Regions from separate parts of the Homo sapiens genome. Here region 2 is linked to region 1. Evidence: promoter capture Hi-C in 16 types of primary human blood cells and fetal thymus (Javierre and others, 2016). All regions are on one chromosome and are shown on one strand. The core of a region is centred on a gene start or on the middle of the fragment in contact, and the rest is flanking DNA. Distances in the headings are between cores, read along the strand shown.

Region 1 (2,718 bases), core at 218-2,717:
TTAGACTGTGTCTTGCTGATAGCATCTTCAGAGATGATTTTGTTGATGAAGATGGCATTTTAAGGGTGACCAGGAAAAGCCCAAATATGTGTAGCAGGCCTAGCAGACTGCCAAGTACATATTTCCTCCAATCCCCTCTGCTTTTTAGCATCTTTTCTGAAATCTCCAGATGAACAACATTCTTCGCCCCATCTACTCTTCAGCTCCTTCAGGAGGCAAAGTCCTTTCTTAAACTGTGAAGAGTAGCAGCATAGTCTCTGCAGTGAGATTTTCTGGATCTGAAGCCCTAATCTACCACTCTCTAATTGTGTGGCTTGGAGAGATCATTTAATTTCTCTTAAGCATCAGTTTCTACATCTATAAAATGAGGGAAATAATAATATCTCTCTTATAGAATATATGGAAATATTCGAGGATAGGAAAATGCAGCAAAAAACTGCATTAAACCTGACCCAGTGTCTGACACATAGTAAGGACTCAATAAATGGCAGATACTATAGTCATTTGATTCATCATAGTAATACTGTAGAGGTGGTGGTGGTGGTGGTGGTGGTAGTAGTAGTAGTAGCAGTAGTTAAGTCATTGTGAACTCTGATACTAAGAACTGGGCTCTTGGAAATGGAGTGGGAGAACAGTAACACCAAATATATCCTGTATGCCAGAGGGTTGAAGAACAGACAGAACAGGTAGCTAAATGCAGCCTATTGAGGAATGTTTGAACTTTGGCTTTCTTTAATCATTGCCACATCTTGCTCCATAATAAGGGTAATTGTAATCCTGCTTCAAAGCTATTTCTAAGAAGAAATAGAGCCAAGGCTGGCATCCCTAACTCTACTCTCCTTTAGCCAGGCTGCTCTATCTATGGCAGTGTCCCCTACTTCCCCAGGCCAGGTTAGGAGGGAACAAGAGAGTCCACCCCAACTGCTTTAACAAGCCTGAACCGCCAGGTCAAGAGATGAAGTAATCTTCCCCCTATACGAAGACCAGAGGTGGGGATGGACAAGGTGGCCAAGGCAGCAGCTGAGGCTCAAGGAGCAGATACACTCTCAAGCCTGCTCCCTCCTGCTCCAGTTCCCAGCTCAGCAGGTGCCACTGAAGGGCTCAGTTCTTCAGTCTGCCCCTGCAGAGTGCTCTGCCCTTCCATGTTCTCTGACACCTCTTCTATTCACTCACCTAGGACAACTAAGAAAGTGGCCTCCTTGGTGAGTAGAGCTTCCACAGCCTCTCTCGGGGAAAAGGACCAGAAGCTGTTGGAGTTGGCCAAATGCTTGAAGTTGGCATAAAGTCAATTGGAACCATCACAATGAGAGTCTGTGTGATCAGCCCAAAAGGACTGCACAACTGATTCATGTTCAGTGCCAGGAAATGCAACGGGCCATTCTGGGGTTGGGTCCTCAGTTATTTTTGGCAAAGATGGGTGGTATGCAAAAGGGACTTCCTTTTTTTTTTTTTTTTTTTTTTCCAGCACAGAGCCACAGAATGCTGAGCAGTCAACAGCATTTCTTGTTCCAAGATCACCCTTCTGAGTACCTCTCTGGCTGCCAAATTGCCAGGGCCTTCACAGTTTGATTCCATTTCTCAGCTCCAAGCATTAGGTAAACCCACCAAGCAATCCTAGCCTGTGATGGCGTTTGACGTCAGCTGCTTCTTTTGGGTGGTGCTGTTTTCTGCCGGCTGTAAAGTCATCACCTCCTGGGATCAGATGTGCATTGAGGTGAGTCCAAACTGTTTGTCTTTATGCAGATTAAACTGTCTGAAAATTTTGAGATTTAGCACGCAGTCCAATCTGAGCCTTGGCATCCCAATATCTAGTGTCTTTAAAAAGGAAATAAGGTGTATATATAATTTTTTCATTATTGTGAGAAAGGAGCCAAAGAACTCTGCCAGGGGATCATCTGGTGGCATCTTAATAGGAAGCAAAGAGAATTTTTCTCCTCTTCAAACAATTCCACCCAAATAATCCCAAGTGGGTCATAAGATATTAATAGGGTCTGTGTGCACAAAGCAGACCCCTAAACCTGCCTCAACCTAGGGGAGCTGTTGGTTTAACATCCCCACTCTCACATGGCCTCTATCCCAATGAGTCCTTTGGTCTCCTCTCAGGGTGAGAATTAGTAAAGACAGCGCTGTGCCAGGTTTTCGAGCATTGAAAAGATCACTCTGAATGAGTCTGGCTCTCTCTTGGACTTGGACAGCCTTCCATCTGTTTTACTAACCCATAGGAGGAAAATCTGAGAATAGAGCCAAATTGCACCTTCTGTTTTGGACCATAGCAATATTTATCAACCTGTGGGAAGTTCTTGGAGGGGATAATGAGAGAAAAAGGAGAAGGGCCTCCGTCTCTTGCCATCCTCTAAAATGCTTCAAACTTCCTCCCACTTTCTCTGACCCCACAAGTGATCAATACCACGTGGCCTGTCAGACAAGGGCTGCATACAGGAGGAACCATGAGTCTTGGTGGCTTGGTGAGCTGCTGGTCTGGGTTGAGGTAAAAAGAAGAGTAAGAGCCAGGAATAGCCAGATGTGGAGTTGCCCTGGGGCAGGACTAGAAGGAGATCAGAGGATCAGGAAGAGCAGAGCAAAGCCAGCACTGGGGTAAGGCTCAGAGCTGGGTGAGCAGAGCCTTGTTGGTCTGGCATTAGGATGGAATCAGCAGCAGGCCAAGAGGAGGCATCATGCCAATGAGAAATGAAGGCTGGGAAGGTGTGTGTTGCTTTG
Region 2 (2,879 bases), core at 111-2,610, 890 kb after region 1:
TGCAAACTCCACATAGACAATGGCCCCAGCTGGGAAGCAATTTTTTTTCTCATCAATGTTATAACAAAATGATGCTGAATGAAATGACATTATCTGAGGACCTGCTGTGGTATAGCTTAAGAAAAATCAGTAGAGCAACCAGTGTCAGCCCAAGTTCATCACATAACATTGACTGACAATTCTGTCACCTTTTGACAAAGCTTGTGTAACAGCTAACATCCTGATGAGTAGAAGGGCAGAGGCTGTCAAGAGGAGTTCAGCTTCAAATTTCTATCACTGTACATTGTCCTATAATTTCTTCCCTAGCTTTAGTCACTACAGTATATTGATATGTCCATCAGTCCCCTGGTTGGTTGCCTTTAAAAAAAAAAAAAGACAATGATGTTAACAATTCTTAACCATAGGTGCGAGGCTCCACAAAGCTGTCACACTGAACCTGAAAGCTAAGAGAACACAAACAGGCAAGTCTGGGCCCCCTTTGGGAATGATCTTAGACTTGGGCAAGATTGCTGGCTGGGTCGGTGTTCGGTGTTCGCTCAGGAAAATGAAACCCCTGGGGATATTTTGATGAGAAAAGGATGTAAACAGACGCTTAGTTATAGAAGTGGTAGAAGGCCTGGAAGAACATACGAGAAAGAAAAGATTTGGTTTGGGCATAGGAGCACCAAGGCGAAGGGGGTTACCCAACCGTCTGCAAGCGGCTGCTGCCTGTGGACAAGAACTTGCACGTGGCGCTCCTGCTGGAGAAGGCACTGCTGCTGCCCATGGGGAACCAAGGAGCCTACAGGCCCGCTGGTGCCACCAAAGCCGCCATGATGCAGTTGCCCACGGCCGCCCTTAGCCACTCACTGCTGCCAGCGGCCTCCCTAAGTCTCCCCACCTGCTCCCAGTGAATGCCCTCCACTGTGGGAGCACTGGCAGACCTAACAGGAAGGGAGGGTGGTTTGCAGATTTCAAGCCCCCAGGGAAGAGAAGAGAGCATGGAAGGCTGAGTGTGGAGCTTTTCTGCCCCTGCCACCAAGGTCAAGGTCATATGGAACACATGATGCCTTTGAGAATAACAAAGGTGTGTAATGTTCAAGATTATTTCATGTATTTGTTCAAGAAACTCCTATAATCCAATAGAGGAGCTCAGAGAAGTATAAGGAGGCAAGAGTCAGATTATACAGATAACCCCTGCAAGGGCAAGATACCACAGTCCATCACTTACTGTTTGGTGGTCTCACATTCACATGGAGTCAAAGGACAACTCACAGGAGTTTGTCCCTTTTCCCCTTGCCTTGCCTGCCAGTTCACACACAGGCCACATCTTTCTTCCTTACATTTGCTTTGTTCTTCCTTCCATTTTCTCCCCATTACCCAACCCCCCACCTTTTTATGTTTTTTGCTTGTTTGTTTGTTTGTTTGTTTGAGATGGAGTCTCTCTGTGTCACCCAGGCTGGAGTGCAGTGGTGAGATCTCAGCTCATTGCAACCTCCACCTCCAGAGTTCAAGCGATTCTCATGCCTCAGCCTCTGGAGTAGCTGGGACTACAGGCATGCGCCACCATGCCAGGCTAATTTTAACATTTTTGTAGAGACAGAGTTTTGCCGTGCTGCCCAGGCTGGTCATGAACTCCTGACCACAGGTGATCTACCCACCTCGGCCTCCCAAAGTGCTGGGATTACAGGTGTAAGCCACCGTGCCCAGCCCCCTCAGTGTTTTTAACCAATCTCCTGATGCCTCCCGAGTGGACCCCCTCAATGAAGCCAGAGGGACTAGTTGGTTCTTTTGAGCCTCCCCAGCAAACAAATCAAATAAATGTTCCTCTTGTTACTATTTACCATGCTTGCCACAAAAGCACAAAGTATTACTATGCTAACAGAGTTCCTGTCTTTTCTCCTCATCTTCCTGAGACCACTGTATTAGTCTTGTTCACACTGCTTTAAAGACATACCTGAGACTGGGTAATTTATAAAGAAAGGAGGTTTAATTGACTCAGAGTTCTGCGTGGCTGGGGAGACCTCAGGAAACTTACAATCATGGCAGAAGGTGAAGTAGGCACGTCTTACGTGGCGGAAGTTGAGAGAGAGCAAGCAAGAGCAGGGAAAACTGCCTTATAACGCCGTCAGATCTCATGAGAACTCACTCACTATCAGGAGAACAGCATGGGGGAACTGCCCCCATGATCTAATCACCTGCCACTAGTTCCCTCATTCGACACATAAGGATTATGAGCATTAAAATTAAAGATGAGATTTGGGTGAAGAGGCAGCCAAACTATATCAACCACCTTTCAAGGAATAAGGAAGAACATCCTGGAGAAGTTTACCAGACCTCGTTTGGAAAGATGTCAAGAGCATACATGGAAGCTCCAAATTATACGTCGGGCTTGCGAATGTGCTGCTTTGAGGGTTCCAGAACCTGCCTCCATGGAAGAATCCCACTCCTCCCCACCCTTACACAAATACCATGTCCCTAATCAGCAATGAGTTCCAACCAAAGAAAATTCTCTCTTCCTGATTTCTGTACAGAAGCTTAGGAATTCAAGCCAAGGAATTTAAGTTGTGTTTTTAAAGGATTATATCTATGGAGATGAATACTAAAGCCAATGTGTAGGTGATTGTGAATATTTCATTCAAACCCAAAATCTCTTCCAGTGGTCAACAGCAAGGGCTATAAAATGCAAGCATGATATCTTCCCTGCTTATTTCACCTCTAAGCAGTAAGGGAAACACCTTGCAGAAATAAAACACTCCTTGGCCAGCCTCCCACATCCCCCAAGCCCCAGCATTTGGGTCCAGATCCACCTCATCAGAAGGGAGGCGCAGACACCATGAAGGAGGAGATGGCAGGCGTGTGGCTACATGATGGGGGGCATCATGAAGCATGGGCTCCAC

The links. The method cuts DNA at HindIII sites, captures the fragments that hold promoters and counts their contacts. A CHiCAGO score of 5 or more calls a contact.
Region 2: a fragment that was not itself captured here is called in contact with the fragment with the promoter of CD180 in region 1 in 1 of 17 cell types (megakaryocytes); the score reaches 5.2 in megakaryocytes.

Annotation. Positions count from the first base shown.
Region 1 is chr5:67,195,548-67,198,265 of GRCh38, reverse strand. It overlaps CD180 (CD180 molecule), which reads left to right and starts at 1,467. Exons shown (of 3, transcript NM_005582.3): 1 at 1,467-1,714. The coding sequence starts at 1,625. RefSeq lists an enhancer at 2,494-2,643. The HindIII fragment of the contact is 10,485 bases long and covers 1-2,718 here.
Region 2 is chr5:66,300,442-66,303,320 of GRCh38, reverse strand. The region is part of intron 1 of LOC124900988 (a long non-coding RNA gene); the gene reads right to left. Among named protein-coding and RNA genes, the nearest start is that of LINC02065, 92 kb to the right of the region's middle. The HindIII fragment of the contact is 2,316 bases long and covers 203-2,518 here.